3 separate regions of the Homo sapiens genome follow, and regions 2 and 3 are each linked to region 1. Evidence: promoter capture Hi-C in 16 types of primary human blood cells and fetal thymus (Javierre and others, 2016). All regions are on one chromosome and are shown on one strand. The core of a region is centred on a gene start or on the middle of the fragment in contact, and the rest is flanking DNA. Distances in the headings are between cores, read along the strand shown. Region 1 overlaps COPZ2 (coat protein complex I subunit zeta 2). Region 2 holds the start of TTLL6 (tubulin tyrosine ligase like 6). Region 3 holds the start of HOXB-AS2 (HOXB cluster antisense RNA 2).

Region 1 (4,818 bases), core at 841-3,340:
ATGAGGGTCCTGGGTCAGGGAGGTGAAGGAAAGGGGCTTGGGGGTATGGGTGAGGTGGTGCAGTGGTTAGGGTGATTCAGAGCTGCACCTGTGTCACTGGTTAATAGAAGTCCTGCAGCCTGTCATTTGGAAGCCAGGACCTCTGGGATTGTGCTATGGTGCGTGGAGGGTGAGGGAAGATGGGAAGAAAGATGGGAAGAAAGGTTTCATCCAGACATGAGAAAGCCAAACAAGGCAGGGAGGTTCTATCCATACCCCTGACCCCCAACCTCAAGGCCAAGGCAGCCACCTAGTGCCTCTTTGAAGATGTATTTATTTCCCCAGTCTATACTTCCTACCAGGAAAGAGGTGAGGTACTTGTGCTCCTAGCCGGGGAGAGGACAGGAAGATTTCTTCCATTAACTGGCATCCCACCCAGAAACTGCTGCTCATCTCACCCCTAACAAGTGTGTCAGCCCAGTGGTTGGCTTCTGCTAGAGGAGCTTGGGCTTCTACCATCTAGGCCCTAGCAGCCCTATTCCCAGGGAGGACAGGAAGGGCAGCCTAAAAGAGGAGGTGTCCAGGAAGACTCTTACCCTAAAATTCACCTTCTGGATCACTTGCTGGGGGTCACTCTCCAGAATCACACTACAAGATGAGAGGAAAAACCAGGAGGCAAATCAGTGGCACAATCCTCCCCTCCGCCCCTTCTCCTTGCCAAGCCTCTTCCCTCTCCGAAGGCATCCTGCAACATCTCCACCTTCCAGGTCCCTTCCCACTGATAGCCCTCAAGTCAGAACTCTCCCTCAGCATGGAGAGCCCTCAGCTCTGATTCTTTGATGCTTCAACCCAGTGGTCCACATGCTTTGTCATCCCTGGGCAAAATCTTTGAAACTGGATAAGAACAGTCTGGTCTAGGATGATCAGGTTGTCAAAAGCAGGGACTCTCAAAACTCAGAGCTCTTGAAAGTTCACTTCACTTTCTGGGTATAGGATTGGATTCCCTGTGAAAAGAGTTAGGAAGAGAGGCCCTGGGGGTTCTTATCTTGTTGCACTGTTATTTTATGGCATGGGGTCATGCCCTGCATAAAAGAAATGAAACTCCAAAAATCAGCATCTACCTTCTCCCCTACTTCCTCCCTTTTTTTTTTTTTTTAAGGCTGGGCACGGTGGCTCATGCCTGTAATCCCAGCACTTTGGGAGGCCGAGGCGGGTGGATCACCTGAGGTCAGGAGTTCCAGACCAGCCTGGCCAACATGGCGAAACCCTGTCTCTAGTAAAAGTACAAAAATCAGCCAGGCATGGTGGCACACATTGTAATTCCAGCTAATTGGGAGGGTGAGGCAGGAGAATCGCTTCAACCCGGGAGGCAGAGGTTGCAGTGAGCCAAGATTGCGCCACTGCACTCCAGCCTGGGCATCACAGTGAGACTCTGTCTAAAAAAAAAAAATTTTTTTTTTAAATCTTCCCTTTTAGGCCAGGCACAGTGGCTCACGCCTGCAATCCTAGCACTTTGGGAGGCTAAGGTGGGAGGATCACAAGGTGAAGAGTTCGAGACCAGCCTGGCCAATATGGTGAAACCCCGTCTTTACTGAAAATACAAAAAAAATTAGCCGGTAATGGTGGCGCACGCCTATAATCCCAGCTACTCGGGAGGCTGAGGCAGGAGAATTGCTTGAACCCAGGAGGCAGAGGTTGCAGTGAGCCAAGATCACGCCACTGCACTCCAGCCTGGGCGACAGAGTGAGACTCCATCTCAAAACACACACACACACACACACACACACACACACACACACACAAAGAAACAAACAAAAAAATTCCCTTTTGATAGACCCAAATATTGTAGCTTTTCTCAGAGAGCAGGCGCTCCTTCGTGAGGCCTTGGGGTTATGTACAGGGTACATGGGCGTGAGGGCCTGTCACTGCGGCAGGACAAAGATGACAGGATCTGAGTGTACCTCCTTACCCACTGAGACTCCTCCAAGGCAGAAGCTTTGTTTCTCTTTGTTACTAAATCACTGGAAATGACAAACATTTCTTGGGAGCCTCTTCCAGTCCCCATCCTTGGGCTGAGCACCCCCTGTCCCAAGCTCCCTAACCAGGGGTCCTGTAATCCATAAAGAAAGAGCATCCCAGGCCAAGGCTCCAGTTTAGGCGTTGCCTCCCGACTGGCGCTTCCCCAGTTTTTCTTGGCAGGAAACTGAGTTCCTCAGAGGCAGAGACGGGAAGCTTGTGAAGCTTACACCTCAGGCATCCTCCTTTGCACAGCCATCCAGAGCCCTGCATCTTGTTTTGCATTTATAGTTTTGTGTGTGTTTGTGTAAAGTTTTCCTTCAAGAGGGTTCACCAAATTGTATATGCTTCTGGCTCCCCAAAACCTGGCGTTACCCCACTCCCTTTTGGGTCCCAGAAATCTGCAGGAGGCATTCCTTAGTGCCCCAGGCAGTCCAGTACAGTGCCATAGAAACAGCATGGCCTCTGGAACTATTCACATGGTTTTAGATCTTGGCCCTGCCACTCCCTAGCTGTGTGAGAGACCTCCGGCGTGTCACTTGAAACTTTGAGCCTGTTTCCTAATGTATAAAATGATGTAATGATAGAGGGATGTATGTTTTTAAGGAGCTCAAGAAATTTCTATTGGCCGGGGATGGTGGCTCACACCTGTAATCCCAGCACTTTGGGAGGCTGAGGTGGGCGGATCACGAGGTCAGGAGATCGAGACCATCCTGGCTAACATGGTGAAACCCCGTCTCTACTAAAAATACAAAAAATTAGCTTGGTGTGGTGGTGGGTGCCTGTAGTCCCAGCTACTCAGGAGGCTGAAGCAGGAGAATGGTGTGAACCCGGGAGGTGGAGCTTGCAGTGAGCCGAGATCACGCCACTTACTGCACACCAGCCTGGGTGACAGAGCGAGACTCTGTCTCAAAAAAAAAAAAAAAAGAAATTTTTATTATCCTTTGCCCCAGAGCCAGAACTTCTTTTTCTCTCTGAATATTGATCCCCTGATGGAAATTCACAAGCCAACTTTTCTCAAAAGAGCTCCTAGCTTCCTAAGAATATACTAGCATACCAATAGGAGGCAACATCTATTGAATGAGAACCACAAGCTTCACATGTATCTTCTCACACATGTATTTAATCCCCACAATCCCTTATTACCTCCATCCTAAAGATGGAGAAAGTAAGCCTCGGGGAGGGTCAGTAATTGACCCAGGTCACGCATCTAGCTTGTGTTGGAATTGAGCCCTAAGAGCAGGACATGTGGGGCTGGTGGGACTGTCTGAAGTCCTTCCAGAGAGGGCCAGCATCTGTGCCAGTGCTTCCCCTGGGCATTGGAGACCAAACTGGATTTTCCCCAAACCCTGCCTATTCAACAGTCTCCCATAGTTTGACATCAGGTTAGTCTCTTGTTTGGCTTGACTTTGGCTAACATTGAAATCAACTTCTATCTTCATGAGTGGGGCGCTAGTAAGGGGAAGGGCTAGGGGAATGGGATCCCTGGGAATATGCTGGGGGAAGGGAGTGAGAAGTTGGTCAGAGTTCTAGCCATGCTGGGTGCCATCTGGGGCTGATGATTATCAAAGGCACTCCTGCTGTGAGTGTCCCTGACTGTCCCCTCCTCACCCGCCATCCACAATCTCGTCCAGCACCAAGAAGGCTCCGTCCATGTTCTCCAGCAACCAGCGCTTCTCCACGTTCTTCCTGAAGGTGGACACAAGCTCCTGAGCCTCCCTGTGGCTGGGAGGAACTGAGTCCCTGCCTAGGTGAGGCTGACCCCACTCTCCAAAGACTGCCTCATTCACCCCTCACCAAACAAGGACTGGGAAGGAGAATGTGAAGGGCAGTGAGCACAGAGCCCATGCAAGGCATTTCTGAGCAAAGGGCAGTTCTGCTTCCTTACACCCTACCTTGTCCAACCTCCCATACTTTGGGCCTTGACACCCTGGCACCCACCACAGGACCCCAGATGCGTTTCACAACTAGGTTAGATGCTATAGCACAGCCCTACTTTCGTTCATTGTGTCGACTGTGAACTTTTCTTTTTGGATTATCTTAGTCTTGTGGGGACTTCAGGAGAAAAACAGGGAGGAAGGGTCCTGTGACATATCAGGGCCAGGGGGATGGGGCCTCGGAGGGCAGAGAACCTCACTCACCTTAACATGTGGTTCAGAGACTCAAACAGGCAGGTGAGAACAGACATGAGCATCAGCTGGGATGGGCAGATACGGGAGGAGGAAAAGGAGAGTTTGAGATTGAGAAGGTCAAAAGAAGCACTTGGAGCCCACCTGTGCGGGCAGCAATGGAGAGTTTCAGAGGCCTGGGCTGGAGACTGACTGCGGTGTGACATTAGAGGGAACTTCCATGTGTCTGGGCTGGGAAACTGGAGTTCTCCACTGGGAGACATTGAGTGTATCCTTCTCTAGTTATGTTTAAGAAGGACAAAGCCTCCCTTGAAGATGAAGTGATTACTTCATTCCTGGTTCCCAAGGAAACTAAGGGGCATCGAAGATACACATTGTCCCAGAAAGAACCCTTCTGGCTGCCCTCCTCTACCCCATGGAGCCTAAAAGAAGGGGTCCAATGGTGAGCCTCCAGGTCCCAGCCTCAAGCCCAGATTCCAAATAACAACATTTCCCCATAGACAGACCCTTCTTACTGCCCCAACCTCCTGAATTCACCTCATTCTCGTAGGATGAGCCCACCACGTATAGGAAGAGGTCAATGCTGTTCTTGTAGACGATGGTCATACCCCCAAAAAATGCAATCTCACCTAGAAGTGGAGGGAGCTTTCAGTCCTGGCCACCTTGCCTGGTCCTAGCCTAGCCCCTCCTCCTC
Region 2 (4,818 bases), core at 1,647-4,146, 790 kb after region 1:
AAAAAAAAAGACTAAGAGCTGTACTACCAATGTAACAAACACAGTAAATAGCAAAATAGCATCTTCAGTTTTTCTTAATGACACAAGAAAGAGCATTGTGTCATTAAGGAAGGGTATTAGTCCACCTTTCCAAGTAGGATATAGTTAAGACACTGAAAAAATTCTCATGTTTCCTTCCATTTTAGTATAGGGTTTGATCTTGAGATCTTCCAAGCCAGAGGCTGTCAACAAGATCCTGGTTAGACAGCACGAAAATGTCCTACATTGGCCACCAGGGGGAGGGAATGAGCACTGGGACGGGTCCACTGGGACGGGTCCATTGCGGGTTATTTGGAAAAAACTCAGAGGAGGGTCCCTGTCTTATTTCCACTTCTGAAGGACTATACCTGTTGACTACTCTCCTCTTCCCTGGAGGTGTTGCAGAGGGTGGAAAATGTTTAGTGCTTTCTTTTATCTTTCTTTCTTTCTTTCAAACTCCAGCCTGTTGCCCAGGCTGGAGTGCAATGGCACGATCTCAGCTCACCGCAACCTCTGCCTCCTGGATTCAAGTGATTCTCCCGCCTTAGCTTCCCGGGAGCTGGGACTACAGGCATGCACCACCACGCCTGGCTAATTTTGTATTTTTAGTAGAGATGGGGTTTCTCCATGTTGGTCAGGCTGGTCTCAAACTCCCAACCTCAGGTTATCAGCCCACCTCAGCCTCCCAAAGTGCTGGGATTACAAGCATGAGCCACCGCGCCCAGCAGTTTAGTGATTTCTTTTGCAAAACTGAATGAACACGGGCATCCTATAAATGATAGAAAACAATAATTTGGTGGTTGACTAAGAGAACCCTGGGAGAACATATTTCAAGTTGTAGCCAAGTTTTTTCATCTCTGACCTTCATCACCTGGACTTTTTTTCTAGTCTATAGGAATATATAGAGCACTGAAAGTTTCGCCTATTGTGTCTGTCTGTGAAGTCCCTCTCTTTCACCAGATAATAGGTTTTCCTTCACGTACCTCCTTTTCATCTTTTGGTCCTCATTTCCCTACTGGAAGCATCCCTCTGAAGGCCTCCAGTGGTTCTTGGAAAATGTCAAATTGGATGGGGGAAGAAAAGATGTGGAGGTAAGACCTCTGGATCTTGCTTTCAGCTTTGCCCCTCCAACTCAGTATGTCATAAAAATCCAAGCAATTATTTCCTCTCCCACTCCCTATCTTCTCTATAATTACAGGACCACTAGGAGGATAAAAGCTTCACATCTAGAAAAGTGCTTTGAGCTTTGATTCAGACAGGATAAAATAAGATGTTTTTTGTGGTCTTTTGACTTTTCGTTTTAGTCACACTTTGAATTTCAGCCCGGGGCCTGAAAGGGTCCTAAGCAAAATGTGAACTAACAAGGGAGGGATGGGGCACCCAATTGCTCAAGGGCTTTGCCAATAAGAAGTGTTGAGAATGACAAGTCACCTGTAGTGGGAACAATAAGAATCTTGCTGACTTAGATGCCATCTTTTATTCTTCTAGAAACTGAGAAATTCTGCAAGATTGGAAGATGCAATATTCAGATCAGGCTCATGCCTAGTCATTTTCTCCACAATATTCAGGGCATTGCTAACAAAGACAGATGGATCTGGATCCAAATCCCAGCTCTACTAGTTTCTAGAATGTGTGACCATGGGTGAGTAACTTAGCCTCTCTGTACCTCAGCTTCTGTATAAGTAAAATGGGGATGATAATAATATTCATTTTATGGAGCTGTTTTAAAGATTAAATGAGTTAATATTTCTAATACCCTTAAAGCAGTGCTTGGTTCAAAATAAAGGCTATATTGTAAAATGAAAATATAAACCAGGCGTGGTGACTCATGCCTGTAATTCCAGCACTTTGGGAAGCCCAAGTGGGAGGATCACTTGAGCTCAGGAGTTCGAGACCAGCCTGGGCAAAAAAGTGAGCCCCCCCACCCCCACCTCCATCTCTTAAAACAAACAAAAAAGAAAATATAATAATAAGATTGGCATAAATATTAAATTTTTTTGGAGTGCCTCGCACATACTGGTGCTTTCAAAACGTTAGCTCCCTTCCCACTTCATCCCCCAATGTGATATTTTTCCTAGAGTTCAAATCCCAAAGGAGAACTTTCTGCAAAGCCAGAAGAGTATTTTTTCAGGAGGGGTGAGAAATAACAACTGGAAATGAAAGAACACCAGGCTGGAAGGCGGTAGGGGCATCAGCAGAGGACTATGCCGGCCATGAAAAATGGGAAGTGTCTTGCTGGAAGGTTTCTCCAGACAAAGGAAGAACAGTGATGAAGAAAATGACCCAATGATGGGGATGAAGGGGATGAAGAGAGTTGTGTGAGTCCCAGGGATCGCTGGTGTCTAAGCGACAGCTCCTTGGTGGACTGTGGTTTAGGAAATCGGGGGAGGGCGGGAAATGAACGTTAATAAGAGGGACTGAGAAGGGGGGAGTCCCGGAGCCGAGGGACCGTGAGGGTGAGTGCCTGGCGCCATGGAACGCCACCAGGGAGGGCAGCGGGCTACCCTGGGGACCTGGGTCCCGTGTGGGTTTAAGGAGACGTGTCTAGCCAGGTTTTCAGGGGACAGGCACCAGGAGGCTGCGGTCTGGAGCCAGCACCGGGCTTTGGGGCGCTCTTACCCGCAATTCCTACTCCCCCGTCTCGCCCCGCTGGGCTGCTAGTCCAGCTTGCAACCACACCTGCCGGCCCCCTCCTCGAAGGATGAAGGAGTAACGCTCCCATTGGCTGCCAGACAGCCCCAACCCCAACCCGCGCTCGCCCTAACTTTGGGTCCGCCCGGCCCTCATATTTGCATACGGGGCCTTCTAGGCCTTCGATTGGCCCCTGCAGTAGCTGCCATGCCCCCTCCCTCCCGAATCCAATTAACCGCCCAGGCGCTAGGGGAGGGGCGCGCCCACGGTTGTCCCGGGAGACGCGGAGGACGCGCGCACCGCGCACCCGGGCGCCAGGGGCTGGACCGCCGCTCGCTCCCGCAGCCCTACCCTTGCCCAGCGAGCCAAGCCGCAGTCCCAGCCCATCCGCGCCGGTGCCGTCGGGCGCCGTGCGCGGGCGCGGCCAGAACGTCTGGCTCCAGAGGTCCAGCTGCGCGGGGCTGCGGTGAGGGAGGGGGGCACCTTGAATTTAGGCCTTCGGGAGAGGGCAAACCTGAAGCAGGAGGCACTGTGGGAAAACACTGGTTGGAGACTTAAATCAGCATCTCAGGCATATTAGTGCCTGTGTCACCTTGGGCAGGCCACGTTACCTCTGTGAGGCTTAGCTTCTTCAACAGGAAAATGGGTGTTGCAAACCTGTGATGACCGCTCAGGCGTATTGAACCCTGACCTCACCTCCAGAGTGTGGGGGTCATGGCCTCCAGTGAACTGATCAGTAAGAGAGGGCCGCCTAGACCGACTGAAGAGTCAGTGAGACTTAAGGGGTTAGGGGTCTGGGCTTCTCAGAGCAACCATTTGGTCTCAGGTGGAGAATCTGTAGTAGTGACTGGATTCAAATCATTGAAGATGGTCGGGCGCGGTGGCTCACGCCTGTAATCCCAGCACTTTGGGAGGCCTAGGTGGGTGGATCGCTTGAGCTCAGAAGTTCAACACCAGCTGGACAACATGGCGAAACCTCCTCTCTACTAAAAATACAAAAATTAACCGAGCGCGGTGCGCGTACCTGTGGTCCCAGCTATCGGGAGGCTGAGGCGGGAGGATCGCTTGAACACAGGAGGCAGAGGTTGCATTAAGCTGAGATCGCGCCACTGCACTCCAGCCTGGGCAACAGAGGGAAACTCTGTCTCAAATAAATAAATAAACATTGTTCATTTGGGCCTGAGTTGGTAACCTAAGTTCCTCCCAACCCAGATCCCCTTCACCTGCTGATGTGCACAGGCAGAACACCAGAGGCAAGGGTGTAGCTTAGCCTCAAGCCGACCCTGGAAGCCTACTACGTGGTGCTTACAGTCACCCCGGAGTGAACAGAAGGCCCAAAGTGGAACCAGTGGCCCATCTGCTGCTCTTTCAGAAACCTCTCTGCCATCCAGTCAGCACTCTTCCCTTTTCCCCCCGCAGGTGGCCCCGTGCTGTGGTGCCCCTCCCCGACAGGCCCTAAGGGGCCAAGTGACCATCATTAACTGGTCACCCAGCAGATGCTTCCCTAAGACCAACTGTCCCAGCCTGGTCCCCTCCCCCATCCCACTGTTGTCTTTCCCCAGCGTCCTACCAATCTGCTCTGCCTAGCTCCTGTTTGGTCTCCGGTCCCTCAGGAGTGATATTGTGATGGAAATGAGGGAGAGGATACAGGAGAGAGCAGCAAAGATTTACGGCTTTCAGAGAGTTTCCACTAAAATCCCTGACAACTGGTTATTTATGAGATGTTGCAACGGGAGCTTATAGGCCAGAGCCTGGCACTACTGTCCTTTCAGGGCTGATGTCAGGAGCAAACACAGGGTGAACACGGTGAACAGTGGAGCTGCCCTCACTGTAGAGCAAAGCAAGCTTCAACCCGAGTGACAGCCAGGAAAGCAGAGAATATCAGTGATTTGTGCCTGGCAAACCCTAAACAGACAAATCCACAAGGTAAACACTGAGGGACTTACTCGGCCTGGGCATGAAAAACTGAAGCAGAATGATGGAGGGTCCTAATTGTCAAAAAATTTGGACCATGTCCTAGAAGCTGTCAGAGGCAAGAGTGTGTGGAAAAATCCAGGTCCAACCCTGTTGTTTTCACTGCTGTTTTGTTCCTAAGGCACCCACCTGACTAAATAGATAAATAGTAAAACAACAGTAAAATCCCCGTAAGGTTGTTTGCTCTGCACTTCA
Region 3 (4,818 bases), core at 854-3,353, 530 kb after region 1:
TTGGTTTCTGGAAATACACATGGGTCTGCAAAGCAGCAGGTCCTTCCAGGGAGAACCAGAGTTCAATTGACCAGGCTGACCCAATCCCTTTATTATTATTACCATTAGCCTCTGCTGATTTAACCAAAATTAGCTTCCAAGCAGCCCTGGCTGAAGGGGGAATTAATTAACAGGCATTAGTTGTGGTTGTTATTAATAGAGAAGAGAATGAAATAAAAACGTTGGAGGGGGTTGGCTGGCTAGGCCCTGGCTTTATTTAGTCTGATTGTTACAGCAATAATAATGATGACGATGATGATGATAGTAATAATAATAAAACAATAATTTAACTAGATGCCTGGGGCCGAAATTCCTGCCGCTCCCCTTGCAATAAACCCCAAACCATCGCGGGACGGAGGCCAGGCGAGTGTGGAAAGCGAAGGAGCCAGAGACGCGATAGGAAAGAATGGAGACTCCGCCGGTGGTGCAGACAGGGCTGGGAAGGTTTGTGCACCCGGGTAGTCCCTGGCTGCTGCTGCCAGGCTGCCTCAGCCGGTCGCTGCTGCCGCGGCGACTGGCGACAAGCTACCAGCCACCTACGATGGCCCAAGGAGGCGAAGAAGAGCAAGCGATCAGGACACCAAAACGGTTATCGGAGGCAGGTTCCCAGCACACCAGCCGGCCGAGGGCCGAGCCCCGCGGGCGGCAGCAAGTTTTGGGAGCTGGAGGTAACCGAATTAAAAGGCGCCTTAGAAACTCCGCTTCGGGACTTTGCTCAGCAGGGCTCCGGGTTGGAGGGCGCCGAGGCCTGGCGGACGGGACAGTGGGAAGAGAGAAAGGTGCTAAGGGGACCCAAGATCTGGGATCCAGAACAAGAGGGGGTGGGGAACAACTCTACCAAGCCAAACAGATCTATTTCCCTTGCCTCCATGTTGGAAAAATTCAGGTTCCATATGGCTCCTCGGGAGGGAGGGAGGGAGACGGTGGCTGCCGGCTTCCCCCCAGGGTCTCGCTGGAGAAGGGAGATGAGCCCCCCGCAAGAACCCCACCTTGCCAAGCACACCCCAGGGAGAGCCAGGAGAGTAACAATAGCTGGGGAAGCCCCGAGAGAGGGGATAGGCCATCTTCCAGGACTTAAAAAAATTAATGGGAGAAAGAAAAATAACAAGAAAGGAAGACAGAGAAAGGTTGAGACTTTCTTAGCAGCCGCGGAGAAAATTCAGCCCTGGATCTGGCTGCTGAAAGAAAAGAGAGAGAGGAGAAAAGAGGAGAGAAGCAGGAAGAGAGAGGGGAGAGAGAGAGGGAGAGAGAGAGAGAGAGAGAGAGAGAGAGGGAGGGAGGGAGGGAGGGAGGGAGGGAGAGAGAGAGTCGCTGCGTGGAAGGAAGCTTAAAGCTTGTGAACTCTTCTTGAACCGAGATTGGAGTCATATGGGCCATAAATCATTGAGACATACTCTCCGCCATTCACAAACTGATAGCCTATTTCAGTCCAGCTTACCTTAGCCACCGACGAGGGGAGAACAGGCAGACATAATATATATTCACATCGAGCCCCAGAGCGAGCGGCAGGCGACAAATCTCCCCTCCTTGAAGGCAAAGGAAAAAAAGACCACTGTTTAAAGCTGCGTCGCCCCCCGCCCCCCCGCCCCCGCCCCGCAAAGCCACCCCGGCTGGGGAGCCCGAGGGGCAGACCGGCCAGAGGAGCCGCGCGGCGTCCGCTTCAATTCACTCGGCTTAGGAGCAGGGGTGCGCAGGAGGGAGGGGGTGGGGGAGCGGGAAAAAAAATAGAAGACCGAAAGGTGCCGGGCGGCTCAGCTCGCCAGAATCCAGCTCCGGGCTCCAGCAGGGCTAAGCCGCCACAGTGTGGTTGCCCTATAAGACTGGTACGCCCTACTCTCCGTAACAATGGCCTCTGCTTTTGCACAGGGAAAAAAAACCACACAGACACACACACACACTCACTCACACACAAGCTCACACCCCCCCACCTCTCCCCCTTTAGCAAGCTTAGATGCCTGATAAGGAGGGAAGGTGATGGTGGTGATGGGGAAGGGGGGAAATTTTAAAATACCCGCCTCCCCAAAAAAAGAGTAAGAAGAAAAGAAGGAGGGTTTTTTTTTTTTCCTTAAAGAACAGGTAAAAATTTAAATCTAGATTGGAGGGACAGGGAGGAAGAGGTGAGCAAAGGCAAGGAAGGGCGGTGAAGTTCACAGCTCCCCCCATACCCCACTAGTGAACTATTATGCTAATATGAGAAGTAGTATTTGGAGGCTGAGTCAAAGGCAGGCCTGGCCCGGGGGTGAGGGTGCCGGGTGCCCCTCTGCACTCATTCGCAATTGGAACACCAGGACTTTTTTAGAAAGTAGTTCTGGGTCTCCAACCCTCACACTCTGGCTCCCTCCTTCTGAGTCTCCAGCCCCGGCTTCTTCCCTCCACTACACCCTCTCTATTCCTCCCAAATCTCCCTCCAGTCTCCAGGCCCAGTCTCTAACCAAGGGAGAGGGAAAGACCAGAACTTAAAAAAAAAAAAAAAAAAAAAACACCCCTCCCCCTTTTTCTTTTTGAGAACAGACAACAAGCGGTGAGTGATGATTTTAAAAACTCTGAACATCTTGCAGGGGGAGGAGGGTTGAGAAAAGGGTGACAAAAGGAGGACTCTGTGTTTTAGTTTGAGCTCCAGACTGGCTGGCAGTAGACGGGCTGAAAGAACTTCATGGATAAGTTTCTGTTATGATTCTCACCTCCGAATAGGCAGAAGGGGCTAAGAGGTGATAAGGACATTTGTACTTCTAAGAAGAGAAGAACTAGCAGGGTCGCTTAATTTTAAATGCACTGGCAGAAGAGATGGAAGATGGTTATTATTATTATTCAGAACAACCCTGTTTGTTTCTCTCTGCCCTGCAAGATTTATGACTCTTGGCACAAGTGAGGAAGGCCACAAAAGCTAAAGTTTTCTTAGGGTGTGTTTGAGCAGGGCAGGAAAAGGCAAGGAGGAGGCCTGTAGGAGGAAGACAGGAGCCAAAAATGTAGGTGTCTGCAGATTTGGGACAGGGGGTGGGGAATAGTCATTCCGGGAGGAAGGAAAAGACAAAAAGAGCACCAGGACATTTCCCAAAGCAGGAGTGTTTGCAACTCTGCCTAACTGCTGACTCGGAGCTAGGGGATGAAATAGAAAGCTGACTCTTTTCTCTAAAGGCAGCTTGGAAAACTGGTCCTCTTAACTTCATGTAAGGCACTACCCTGTGATTTCCTGGTTAGAATACTTGGCTTTTGCCTTCTCCCATCTGGATGCACCAGAAGAGGGAACGGGACTGGGGACAACAAAGGTGAGAGTTGATTTCCAGCTTTTGTGTTCCCTCCAGCATAGGTTGGAGGTGTCTGGCAAAGCTTCCCTCATTCCCTCTCTCTCCCCACTCACAGGCTCTACTTTGGGATGAGATAGGGAGTGGCCCCTGGCCTCCAGCCCCTACTTCTTCCAGGCAAGGCTAAGTCAGGCCAGGTGATTTGGAGCAGCCGGTTTCCAGGGGCCCTGATAAACTGGGGGTACCTATGGCCTTCCTGCCCTCCAGCAACAGAAGCCACTTGCAGAGCCTCAGAATGTAATGTCCTGAGGACCCCACCTCCCACCTAGAAAGTTGACAGCTGGGGGGAAGCACGGGTTGGGGGACATGGGGATGGAGGGTGGGAGCTATTTTTCTGTGTTTATTAGCTATTATTCTGTGTTTATTAGTATTTTTCTGTGTTTATTAGTAGTATCAAGAAAATAAAACATCCAAGTCAGACCTAGACTTGGGGCTCAAGCCAGCCTGGAACCCCAAAGAGACCTGTTAGGGGTGCCTGAGCATGTGGCTGCAAAAAGTCTGTCCTGAGATCTCTACACTCTGGTTAGAGACCTACAGGGTCAGACCCCATGTAACTTTGAGCTTGGTGGGTCAGGGACTCAGGCCAGGGAGGCTTCCAGAGGCTTAAAGAAACCAGTACCTTTGGGGTTTTTTTTTCTATCACTCCCCCAAATAAAAAAAAAGCCAAGAATGTACCTCAAAACCTCTGCTGTCCTAGCTGTTACTATCATTGGGTTAGAGAAGGTCATTGTAAAACTGAGAGAAGAGGAGAACCTGATCGCTTTTGGGACTGCGCAGCTTTGCCTCTAGGAATAACACGAGAGTCCAGAAGGCACCCAGGCAGCCTCGGGCCGGCTGCAGGAGAAGCGGGCCTGGAGCTGAGCTGGGAGTGGAGGAGTGTTCCAGAGACAACAGCAGACCCCTCCCTTCCCCAAGCCTCCTCAACTCTTTGTGGTCCCTCGGGCTACAGAAGGCAGTGGGGCATAGTGGGGTGGGAGTGAAAAAGAGGACCGAGAAGCAAGAAAATGAACCTGGAGAAAATCTCAGAGGACATATACCCCCAAATGCGGTAGGAGATGGAGTGGGGGCTTCTTAATTCTGGAGTACAGAGCCCATTTGGAATACTTGGGAGGCAATTAGATCCCAGTTTAGTTTCTGTCTTGCCTTTTTTCTTCCATTCTCAGAGGTCTCTGGCGAGCAGGCGGGCTGCCCTCTGATTAGGGCTGGGAGGCTGGAGGACGGAGGGTGGAACAGGCACCCCTAAGGGCCCCTGTTTGGACTGAGGTGTTGCTGCTAGCCAGGGGATTTTCAAACTTCAGGGGATAAAGGCTGGTAGTGAGGAGTTTGAGCAGGGAACTTGGGGTGGGGGACGCCAGAGCAGGCTGAGGGAAGACTTTGGGGTCTGGGAAAAGAGAAGCAGGAGAAGGGCTTATCATCCCTGAGAGTGAAGCCATGATTTCGGAACAGACTGGAGATACAGAAGAGGGAACAATTTCTT

The links. Contacts are between HindIII fragments. The CHiCAGO score rates a contact against its expected background, and 5 or more counts as called.
Region 2: the fragment with the promoter of TTLL6 here is called in contact with a fragment that was not itself captured in region 1 in 1 of 17 cell types (neutrophils); the score reaches 5.2 in neutrophils.
Region 3: a contact is called between the fragment with the promoter of HOXB-AS2 here and a fragment that was not itself captured in region 1, in 1 of 17 cell types (naive CD4 T cells). The highest score is 5.8, in naive CD4 T cells.

What each region holds. Positions count from the first base shown.
Region 1 is chr17:48,028,550-48,033,367 of GRCh38, forward strand. COPZ2 (coat protein complex I subunit zeta 2) reads right to left here. Exons shown (of 9, transcript NM_016429.4): 4 at 4,662-4,753; 5 at 4,137-4,192; 6 at 3,607-3,684; 7 at 576-627. MIR10226 (microRNA 10226) reads left to right here and starts at 4,333; the gene lies at 4,333-4,402. The HindIII fragment of the contact is 237 bases long and covers 1,973-2,209 here.
Region 2 is chr17:48,814,333-48,819,150 of GRCh38, forward strand. TTLL6 (tubulin tyrosine ligase like 6) reads right to left here and starts at 2,897. Exons shown (of 16, transcript NM_001130918.3): 1 at 2,638-2,897. The coding sequence starts at 2,740. LOC105371813 (a long non-coding RNA gene) reads left to right here. Exons shown (of 4, transcript XR_001752926.1): 3 at 1,507-1,660; 4 at 2,097-2,626. RefSeq lists silencers at 2,603-2,652, 2,743-3,092. The HindIII fragment of the contact is 3,258 bases long and covers 1,235-4,492 here.
Region 3 is chr17:48,554,054-48,558,871 of GRCh38, forward strand. HOXB-AS2 (HOXB cluster antisense RNA 2) reads left to right here and starts at 2,104. Exons shown (of 2, transcript NR_046610.1): 1 at 2,104-3,305. It overlaps HOXB3 (homeobox B3), which reads right to left. Exons shown (of 5, transcript NM_001384749.1): 3 at 1,478-1,565. The HindIII fragment of the contact is 1,381 bases long and covers 1,984-3,364 here.